Linked DNA regions of Homo sapiens: regions 1 and 2 are each linked to region 3. The links are contacts of gene promoters, found by promoter capture Hi-C in human tissues and cell types (Jung and others, 2019). All regions are on one chromosome and are shown on one strand. The core of a region is centred on a gene start or on the middle of the fragment in contact, and the rest is flanking DNA. Distances in the headings are between cores, read along the strand shown.

Evidence for each region. Contacts are between HindIII fragments. The study calls those that stand out against the background at their distance.
Region 1: a fragment that was not itself captured here is called in contact with the fragment with the promoter of SYNDIG1L in region 3 in 2 of the 25 tissues and cell types used here (lymphoblastoid cells and small bowel).
Region 2: a contact is called between a fragment that was not itself captured here and the fragment with the promoter of SYNDIG1L in region 3, in 4 of the 25 tissues and cell types used here (liver, mesendoderm cells, spleen and 1 more).

Annotation. Positions count from the first base shown.
Region 1 is chr14:74,500,860-74,504,555 of GRCh38, reverse strand. It overlaps LTBP2 (latent transforming growth factor beta binding protein 2), which reads left to right. Exons shown (of 36, transcript NM_000428.3): 31 at 502-630; 32 at 950-1,087; 33 at 1,170-1,337; 34 at 1,622-1,903; 35 at 2,966-3,115; 36 at 3,527-3,696. The coding sequence ends at 3,672. Among named protein-coding and RNA genes, the nearest start is that of ISCA2, 8.9 kb to the right of the region's middle. RefSeq lists enhancers at 1,353-2,047, 3,457-3,696 and a silencer at 3,476-3,696. The HindIII fragment of the contact is 5,883 bases long and covers 1-3,696 here.
Region 2 is chr14:74,339,612-74,343,205 of GRCh38, reverse strand. It overlaps a transcript of VRTN not described here. Among named protein-coding and RNA genes, the nearest start is that of VRTN, 7.1 kb to the left of the region's middle. The HindIII fragment of the contact is 9,025 bases long and covers 1-3,594 here.
Region 3 is chr14:74,424,281-74,427,588 of GRCh38, reverse strand. It overlaps SYNDIG1L (synapse differentiation inducing 1 like), which reads left to right and starts at 1,379. Exons shown (of 4, transcript NM_001105579.2): 1 at 1,379-1,677. The HindIII fragment of the contact is 14,133 bases long and covers 1-3,308 here.

The sequences.
Region 1 (3,696 bases), core at 496-2,995, 77 kb before region 3:
CCAAGCTGCACCTCCAGAAACAAACTATGATGCCTTGACTAACTCTCACCCACAGCCACATGTGGGCACAGGGACAGAGTGGAGAGCACTGCTCTAGAGGCCAGAGGCTGCGCTCATCTCCCTGGCCGCACTGATGAGGCCAGAAACTCTGGGGAACACACACTCACAGTAGGATGGTCCAGGTACTGCGCCCCTCAGCACCCTAGTCCTGAAGCTAGTCTTGAGAAGGAAATGATGGAGACAGAGATTGCTTTTCTTGGGTGCTGGCTACACGCCGTGCACTTTTTTGAGCACCTCACACATATTAACACCTTTTCATCCTTACAACAACTCTAAGAGTATGTAGGAACCGGAGGCAAGGCGAACTTAAGCAACTTGCCCAAAGCCACCTAGTAAGTGGCAGAGCTGGGATTCAAACCCAGCCTGGCTTTGGATTCCCTGCTCTAGGTACCCCTCATACTGCCTCTCACCTTCCTCTCACCTCAGCTCTGCCTTCCACAGATGCGGATGAGTGTGTGATATTCGGGCCTGGTCTCTGCCCGAACGGCCGGTGCCTCAACACCGTGCCTGGTTATGTCTGCCTGTGCAATCCCGGCTTCCACTACGATGCTTCCCACAAGAAGTGTGAGGGTAAGGACACACATGATCCCTGCCCCCACCCCAGGCCCACAGCTGAATAATGGCCCACCCAGCCCCTGCCAGCCAGTCCCATTATTGCTGAGAGTCCCCCTTCCTAGGGAGGCCGCCCACTGCAGCAGGCTGGTCCCAGGTGAAGGAGCTGTGGGCTGTCAGAGATTGTCCCCAGGAGGGCCTTCCAGGCTGGGCTGGGTTGAGGGGAGGGAGGCAGGGCACTAACTCTTCATTATCAGTGATAGGCAAACACCCTTCCCTGAGGGTGGTTGGTGGAAAGGCCACCTTGGCAATGCCCCACCCTTTCCTGCCTCCCCAGATCACGATGAGTGCCAGGACCTGGCCTGTGAGAATGGCGAGTGCGTCAACACGGAGGGCTCCTTCCACTGCTTCTGCAGCCCCCCGCTCACCCTGGACCTCAGCCAGCAGCGCTGCATGAACAGCACCAGCAGCACGGGTGAGTGGGCCTGAGCGTGGGGGAGCAGGAGAAGGGTACCTGGGCTGGGGGGCTCATGTGCCTCCGTGCCCTGTGCCACCAGAGGACCTCCCTGACCACGACATCCACATGGACATCTGCTGGAAAAAAGTCACCAATGATGTGTGCAGCGAACCCCTGCGTGGGCACCGCACCACCTACACGGAATGCTGCTGCCAGGACGGCGAGGCCTGGAGCCAGCAGTGTGCTCTGTGTCCCCCGAGGAGCTCTGGTGAGGGGGAGCAAAGGGGATACCCTGCAGGGCTGGGCCAGGCCCCAGGGAGGGGGATGCCCTCACCTTGGAACTGGGGATCTAGAAAGAAGGAGCAGAGCAAAGGCCCTGTCTTCCATCCCTGCTGTTTGGGGACAAAGTAGGGCAGGGGAGAGGTGGGGAGAGGAATGTTGCCAGGATCTCCCAGAGGGTACCAGTCCTTGCATGCTCCCAGAGACAAAGCCAGCCAGGCTTTAGCTGGCAGGAGCTAGAACCCAGCTCCTTCTCTCCCTCCTCCCTGACAGAGGTCTATGCTCAGCTGTGCAACGTGGCTCGCATTGAGGCAGAGCGGGAGGCCGGGGTCCACTTCCGGCCAGGCTATGAGTATGGCCCCGGGCCCGATGACCTGCACTACAGCATCTATGGCCCAGATGGGGCCCCCTTCTACAACTACCTGGGCCCCGAGGACACCGTCCCTGAGCCTGCCTTCCCCAACACAGCCGGTCACTCAGCGGACCGCACACCCATCCTTGAGTCTCCTTTGCAGCCCTCAGAACTCCAGCCCCACTACGTGGCCAGCCATCCAGGTCTGTGTTGCTGCAAAACTGGGGAAGAGGTGGGCACCAAAGCTGTTTCACTTCCATCTCCTCCACCTGCTAGTCATATTGCCAGCAGGGTGAGGACTGGGAAGGGGAAAGACACACCAAGCCAGAGGTCCCCGTTCACGGCTCGCTTGAGACAAGTACATACGCCCAGGTCCGACCCTAACAACTCCGTCATAAACTATCACAGGGACACAAAAAGGTACAGGACACTGCCCCTGTCCCAACCTACAAGCTTCCTGTGGGGACTGAGAGAGAGAGAGAAAGCTGTTCACTGCAGTCTTTTTCTCCCTCCACGCCACCTACAGGCTGCAGAATAACCTGCTCTAAGGACACCCAGCATTCACACTTGTGACCTGAAGTGTGGATTAAGGTTTTCTAAGGACTTTAAAGGCCCACCGTGATGACTCGGTTTGTGAATGGTGCGATCCAAACACTCAGGCCTTGGAGTCTAATGAGGAAGTCAAGCCTAGCACTGTGCCATGCACACGGTACCCACCACAGGCAAAGCTACCACATCAGACTAAAACCATACCTCTGGGTAGGGTGTGGCCTTTTCCATGGGGTGGAGGGGTGCTTAGGGAGTGAAGAGGGTTAGGTAGATCTGGTCAATGTTTTGCTTTGTGTTGAGTGAGGCCCCTCTGCTACCAATTGTTCCCCACTTCCCAAAAACACGATGTGAAGGTTTAAACAAAACACCTCACCCCTTCCCCACGCCCAAACCCAAAAACTATGTAGCAACACACTCCTCGACCACCCAAACCCCAGCAGGAGCCGGGCATTGTGGAAGCAGCGAGTCTCAGCCTCCCTGGAGCCCTCATTTGAAGCCCAGAGCACCTCTCCCCATCTAAAATGACACATACTTTTTTTTTCAAGAGTACTGCCTTTTGTTCTAGCATCTTTCCACAAGAATTTTATGATCCTCTCTGCCCCCACCCCCACAGTTCCACAGGGGCACCCTTTGTCCAGAAGGGCGAGGGTCCCAGCATTAGGGAGAGTCTGGACACAGCCCTCAGCCTCCTCCTCTCTCCGATTTCCTCCTCCCAGAGCCCCCAGCCGGCTTCGAAGGGCTTCAGGCGGAGGAGTGCGGCATCCTGAACGGCTGTGAGAATGGCCGCTGTGTGCGCGTGCGGGAGGGCTACACCTGTGACTGTTTTGAGGGCTTCCAGCTGGATGCGGCCCACATGGCCTGCGTAGGTAAGTGCAGAATTCTGATGGAGGAGTCAGGCTGGCCCACTGCCCACAGAGACGCCTGAACTCAGGAAGGCTGGAAGAGCCACTGCTGCCTCCTAGTGGGGCTGTCTGCATCAGGCTGGAAGGGAAGAAAGCGCCAAAGGAAGGTTTAATTATGTGCTTTAGAAAGCCCCTTCCGTGCAGGTTCCCAGACAAAAGACAAGGACAAGAGAGCACGGTCTTGGGCATGGTATGAGCTTGCTGCCCCCTGCTTTGTCCTTGAGTTGCTTGGTTTTGGGAAGTGACTTCAGCCTCTGGCTGTCACACTTAGGGTTTCACTCTAGGGCAGTGGCCAGGGCTTACTAACCAGAGAGGTGGAGGCAGCCAGCAGAGGCACCTGGGCTCCCTACAGCACTCTCCTTTGTTTCCTCTTAGATGTGAATGAGTGTGATGACTTGAACGGGCCTGCTGTGCTCTGTGTCCATGGTTACTGCGAGAACACAGAGGGCTCCTACCGCTGCCACTGCTCCCCGGGATATGTGGCTGAGGCAGGGCCCCCCCACTGCACTGCCAAGGAGTAGCAGTCAGGGGTCAGTGTGGCAACT
Region 2 (3,594 bases), core at 585-3,084, 85 kb after region 3:
GCAGTTAGCCAAGGTCGCAGCACTGCACTCCAGCCTGGCCACAGAGCAAGACTCTGTCTCAAAAAAAAAAAGTTGTATCAATTTACTTTCCCGAAAACAGTATGAGAGTACAATTTCTCCACCCTGCCAGTATAATGTGTTATCAGAAAAAGTGTTTTATAATCTTTGTCAATCTAATAGGTGAAAAATTATTCCCTCAGTATAGTTTTTTTGTTTTTCTCAGTATAGTTTTAATTTACATTTTTAAATTATGATGAAAGAGCATTTTTCATATATGTAAGAGCCTTTTAGACTGGCGTGGTGGCTCACACCTGTAATCCTAGAACTTTGGGAGGTCAAGGCAGGAGGACTTGAGCCCAGGAGTTCAACACCAGCTTGAGCAACACAGTGAGACCTTGTCTCCACAAAAGTAAAAAAGAAAAAGTTAGCCCTGTGTGGTGTCATGCGCCTGTAGTCCCAACTACTTGGGAGGCTGAGGAGTTCAAGGTTGTAGTGAGCTGTGATCACACCACTGCAATCCAGTCTGGGTGACAGAGTGAGACCCTGTCTCAAGGAAAAAAAAAAAGCCATTTGTGTTTTTTTCCTTTGAATATCCTTTGCCCATTTTCCTATTGGATTATAGCCCTTTTTCTTATTGATTTGTCAGAGCTTTGTACAGTGTGTATATGTGTGTATATATATGTACACATATATGCACACACATACACATATATACATTCACGTGTATGTGCGCATATACATATATACACGAATACATATATACACATATTTACATACACATACATGTATAGTTTTATTTTGCACAAGCCCTCAGAAATAAATGTAGGATATATTAAGACAGTCCTTGGTTGATGACAGGAATTAGAAATATTTTTTCTGAATTTGTGGTTCCTAGTTGGACTTTGAACCACAGTCCGAACAGATATGGTACAAATCTGTCTTGTCTTTTTTTTTTTTCTGAAGCAGGGTCTTGCTGTGTCACCCAGGCTGGAATGCAGTAGTGTAGTCACAGCTCATTGCAGCCTCGAACTCCTGAGTTCAAGGGATTCTTCTGCCTCTGCCTCCGCCTCTGCCTCCTGAGGAACAGGAGCATACCATACCCAGGCTGATCTCAAACTCCTGGACTGACGTATCTGTCTTTTCTTTAATGGGTTTGGGATTTGGTAAATTTTAATTTACTTTTATTTAAACTGTCAAGATGAGATGTCACAAAATTAAGGGCCTGGTTATTAAGGTGTTCAAACACCAAAATCCCAGTTTCCCAGCAATAACTAAACCAGCTTCCACAAGTAGACATCTTTAGTTAATATATACCTCGCTTTGAACAAAATTCAGATTTCAGAAGCAGAGGAGTTGGGGGTAATCCTTCACTTACAAAAAGACATGCGGCCAGGTGTGGTGGCTCACGCCTGTAATCCCAGCACTTTGAGAGGCCGAGGCATGTGGATCACCTGAGGTCAGGAGTTCGAGACCAGCCTGGCCAACATGGTGAAAGCCCATCTCTACTAAAAATACAAAAACTAGCTGGGCATGGTGCTGGGCGCCTGTAATCCCAGCTACTCTGGAGGCTGAGGCAGGAGAATCACTTGAACCCAGGAAGCGAAGGTTGCAGTGAGCCAAGAAGGTGCCATTGCACTCCAGCCTGGGCAACAAGAGCAAAACTCTGTCTCAAAATAAATAAATAAAGAGACATGCAATAGAAAAGCTTTAAAGAAGTAATTAACAATGTTTATGTTTAAATTTACAGCTTTCCAGGGGTTGTGTAAGTGGTGGCTCACCTGAACTTGCATCAGCTACTAAAAGCAAGTCCTATGTTGAACAGGACATTGATTGGGTGGTAAAAAGTCTAAATTTTGGAGTATGATAGGGTCAGTATTCCAGCTTTGCCCTGTGGGACATGGAGTAAATTACCTGGCCTCCCCAGATCTAATTGCTCTCTTAGAAAATGATGGTAACAACCCCAGAGAGGTTGCTGTGAGGATTAAATGGAAAAACTGTGAAATTCTTAGCACTGGTCTAATAATGAAATGCTCAGTAAATAGTGCTGCTATTCAGTTATTCTCTTCCCTACTCACCTTCTTTCTACAGAGATTTAAAGAATTCATCCATCTGTCCCATCAATTAATTCATTCACTCAATGACTTGTTAAATAATTTGTTATTTCAGCTGGGCACGGTGGCTCACACCTGTAATCCCAGCACTCTGGGAGGCCGAGGCAGGCGGATCACAGGGTCAGGAGATCAAGACCATCCTGGCCAACATGGTGAAACCCCGTCTCTACTAAAAACACAAAAATTAGCCGGGAGTGGCTGCGCGTACTCCAGCTACTCAGGAGGCTGAGGCAGGAGAATTGCTTGAACCCAGGAGGCAGAGGCTGCAGTGAGCTGAGATTGCGTCACTGCACTCCAGCCTGGGCGACAGAGCAAGACTCCGTCTCAAAAAATAAAAATAAAAATAAATTGTTATTTCATATAATTCATCATTCATTCAATCATTTATTTATTCACTTGTGCATTTATTCATACATTCAGTCATTCATTCAACAGATATTTGAGCTCTTAATATGTGCCAGGTTCCAGGCTAGCCCCAGGAATACAATGATGTCTACAGACTGAACTCTAGACTTTAGAGTGTGAGAGTTGAAACTCAAAAGGCTTCTCATTGGCCGGGTATGGTGGCTCACGCCTGTAATCCCAGCACTTTGGGAGGCGGAGGTAGGCGGATCACCTCTCAGGAGTTCAAGACCAGCCTGACCAATATGGTGAAACCCCGTGTCTACTAAAAATACAAACATGGCCGGGCGCGGTGGCTCACGCCTGTAATCCCAGCACTTTGGGAGGCCGAGGTGGGTGGATCACCTGAGGTCAGGAGTTTGAGACCAGCCTGACCAACATGGAGAAACACCGTCTCTACTAAAAATACAAAATTAGCCGGGCGTGGTGGCACATGCCTATAATCCCAGCTACTAGGGAGGCTGAAGTAGGAGAATCGCTTGAACCTGGGAGGCGGAGGTTGCGGTGAGCTGAGATCGTGCCCTTGCACTCCAGCCTGGGCAACAAGAGCAAAACTCCGTCTCAAAAAAAAAAAAAAAAAAATACAAACATTAGCTGAGTGTGGTGGCACACACCTGTATTCCCAGCTATTGGGAAGGCTGAGGAAGGAGAATTGCTTGAACCCAGGAGGCAGAGGTTGCAGTGAGCTGAGATCATGCCACTGCACTCTAGCCTGGGCAGCAGAGTGAGACTCCATCTCAAAAAAAAGAAAAGGCTTCTCATTCATTCTACAACACAACAAACACCTATTATATTCACTGTAAACAAAGGCCTTAAATCCAATTACTGCTAGTCTTACTTTTATGACATGTTCTCCTAGCTTCTTTTATTTTCTGTTTTTGAGACAGGGTCTTCTCTGTTGCCCAAGCTGGAATTCAGTGGTGCAATCACAGCTCACTGCAGCCTCAAAATACTGGGCTCAATCGATCCTCCCGCCTCAGCCTCCCAAGTAGCTGGGACTACAGGCATGTGCCACCATGCCCAATGAAATTTTTTCTTATTAGTAGAGATGGTGCCTCACTATTTTTCCCAGCCTGCTCTA
Region 3 (3,308 bases), core at 130-2,629:
CACCAATACCAGCCCTGAGACAGACCCCAGGATAAGGGAGTTCTCTGTCCTGCCTTGAAGGGAAGGAGACCCAAGCCCCATGATGTGGACTTGCTCCTGGCTCCTACTGTGCACTCTAGGAGCTACACCGAACTGTGCCAGATGCCCACATCCTGTGGGAGTGAAGGAGTCCTGGAGTCCACCATGCTATGTGCTATAGCATCCTCAGCTGGATGCTAGGAGACTAGTGGATGCTAGTGGAATCCCACTGCCAGACCCTGGTTCCTTGTGTCTTCCAGCCCCAGCTGCAGCCTGCTCTGTGGTTTACTTTGCAAACCCACACTTACCTTCAGAAAATGAGAATACTCTCTCCTCCTGACCTCCTGGGACTTTGGTGAGACTCAAGACCTTGTGAAGGCGCTCGAAGAATAGGTTCATCCACTGGTAACACTCAAGATAGGGCATCCCCATGCAAAAAAAAAAAAAAAAAAGGAAACGCAGGTGGAGGTGGATAAAGAGCAGCACAGGGTGGAGACAAAGCAGCCAAAAGGCCTGCATTCGGATCTCAGGGCTCTTGCTGGGAAAACTCAGGGGGACGCTCACTCACTGAGTGCCTATTGAGTGCCAATGTGTCACGTATGTCATCTCATTTTGTCCTCATATGACCCCTCACTTTGTCCATGAGGAACCTGAGGCTTTAAGAGGTTAGGTAACTTGCTCGAGGTTATACAGCAAGTGGGACCCTAGGACCAAAACTTAGGTCCATGAGCTTTAAAACCTGTGCCCTTCCCAGCACAGCACTGAATCTCCAAATCACAGGATTTCATCCTTGTGAGCCCAGCGTCCTGGTCTGCAAAATTGGAGGGGGAAGGGGGACAGGGGGAGGGGGGCAGGGGGAGGGGAAGAGGGGAAGAGGGGCACTATATTGCCTAATAGAGTTGTTAAGAAAATTAAATGAGCTTATGTTGATTAAACACATTATCGGGCTTGGTATCTGGTATATAGTAGGTGCTCAATAAATGCTTTCTGTTTGTTTTTCTTTTTAGGGCAGATCAATGTTAAAAACTCAGGGCTGGCTTTGGAGCCTAGGAGCTCCAAAATGCTTCAAGAAGCCCAAGGGCCTCCCATCGCTCTGGGGTGCGCGGGAGGAGGGGAGAGAAGGGCTGGGAAAGAGGGCTCGGCTCCAGGAAGCGGGTACGCGGGTTCCAGCTGCGCGCCCCTCGCTTCGCCGCCTCCTCCGGGCTCCCCCGACTTCCCGCCCCGCCCCGCCCCGGAGCCGGGTCCGGAGTGCCTGGTGGGCTGATTCCGGAGCGTGGAAGGGAGCACGGAGCACGGAAGCGAGAGGGAGGCGGCGGCGGCGGGAGGCGGGAAGGAGGGGGACCCTCCTCGCTGCTCTCCCAAGTCGGCGCGGAGCCGCCTCGGGCCGGGCCGAGGGCTGCGCGGCGGCGGCGGCGGCGGGGCCCGGCCAGGATGCGGGGCTCCCGGGACCGCGCGGGGCGGGGCGGGCGGCGGCGGCGGGCTGCGGGCGGGAGCTGTCCGCGGTGCTGAAGCGGCGGCTGCTCAGGGACGCGGGGACGAGAGCAGGGGAGCCCTCCTGGGAGTTCCACCGCGACCGCGAGGCGGGGGCGCCGTCGCTCACCGGCCCATGCCGAGCCCCCGAGCCCCGCGGAGGAGGCGGGACCGTCCGCGGCGGGACAGGTAAGGGGCGGTCTGGGGGCGCCGCGGGAGCGCAGAGCTAGGCACGGAGCGGGGAGTGAGCTGGGGAGGGCACGGGAGCCCTCTCGGGGCTAGGGGCTCTGACTCCCTGCTTGGCCGCACCTTGCGCTCCGCCAAGGCTTGCACTTCGTCCCTCCCTACCCCTCATCCTGCAGGCTGGGGGTGCTGGGAGGGGGCTGATGAACTGGGGTCAAGACACCATAACCTCACAACATCAGGCCTTGACCCTGACCTCAGGCAGCTCCTAGACATCCTGCCTACTGACGGCAAGAAATACTGATTAGAGCCTCAGACTCCCTGGTACCCCAGTCCCCACCAAGGTTTTGCGACACTAGCAAAATCTGAGCAGGCTTCACTAAGCTCCCCTCTTCTCGCACCCAAACCTGTTCACCCAGGTGACTGAGGTGGCTGTGGTACCCCCTGCTCTGAGATTTCTCTGCCCTGGAAATGGCTCTTGGGCCAAGGGATTGGCTCTTGGGCCAAGGCCCCTTAGGATGGATTAACCCATTTCTTCAGGGAAGGAAGGAGGTCCTGGAAGATACCTCAATTTTTTTTCCTATGACACTCTTGACGCTCACAGAAGCAGGCAGGATTTGCATCACATCTCTTGGCGCATGAGGGCAAAGAGTCAGGGAACCTGGGTCCTGTTTTCTATTATGTGCTGGTGACCCTAGACAGAGCCTCCATTAGGAGTTCTCTCTCTTTCTGGCAAGAGTGCGCTGAATGAGCTCATTCAGGCCTGCAAAGTGCTTCTAGTTCTTCAGAGCAGAGTTCTCTATGACTGGCAGAATGTAGCGATCAAAATAAAACTGCGTGGAGGAAGAATTGGCCTACCCTTGTGGCTGACCACTTCTTTCTACTGCTTTATCCCCACCCTCCAACCCAACACAACTTCCCTACCCCCAGGGGTAGAAAGAGCACTAGAGTAGGAGTTCCTGGCTGGGTGCTGGCATTTACTGGCTTTAGCTAGTTCCCTAAGCTCTTTCAACCTCATCCTCCTCACCCCTGGAGTGGGGATAAGGTCACCGCTCTGCTCACCTCAGGGAACTGCCTTGGGGCCCAATGAAAAACAATGCACCTGATTGGAGGCTTGCCACCTGTACATCTCCATACCAGTGTGCGCTGCTGTCACTGTTCCCAACCCCTAGCCAGGCCTGCTGTCAGTGACCTGATTATTGTCACCCCTACCCCCTCTTCTCCCAGCATGGCCATGTCTCCCTTTGTCCTTGGCCACCGTGGGGTCCCAGAATCAGTGAAGCCAAACTTATAAACCTTAAGGAGAAAAAAGTGTGCCCTCCCTTCTTCTCCTCTTCCATCATCACCTATAGGAGATAATATAAGGTAAGAGTCTGACTCACCGGTTTTTATTTTTTCTCCCTAAGAACCACAGATCTAGGGAAAGAGCTCCCTGAAGGCAGGAATTGTGTTGTTTTCATCTCTTTGTCCCCCTTCATGACCCCCTCCCCAACAGCACCTGGAAGATAGTAAGGACTCGGTAATCGGGTGTAAAATGAGGGAATGAAATGTTAAAGTGTATCAGAATAAAAGCATTTAACTGGGAGTCAGAAGCCCTGTGTTCTGGTCACAGATCCGCCGCTGTCTCAGGCAGGTCC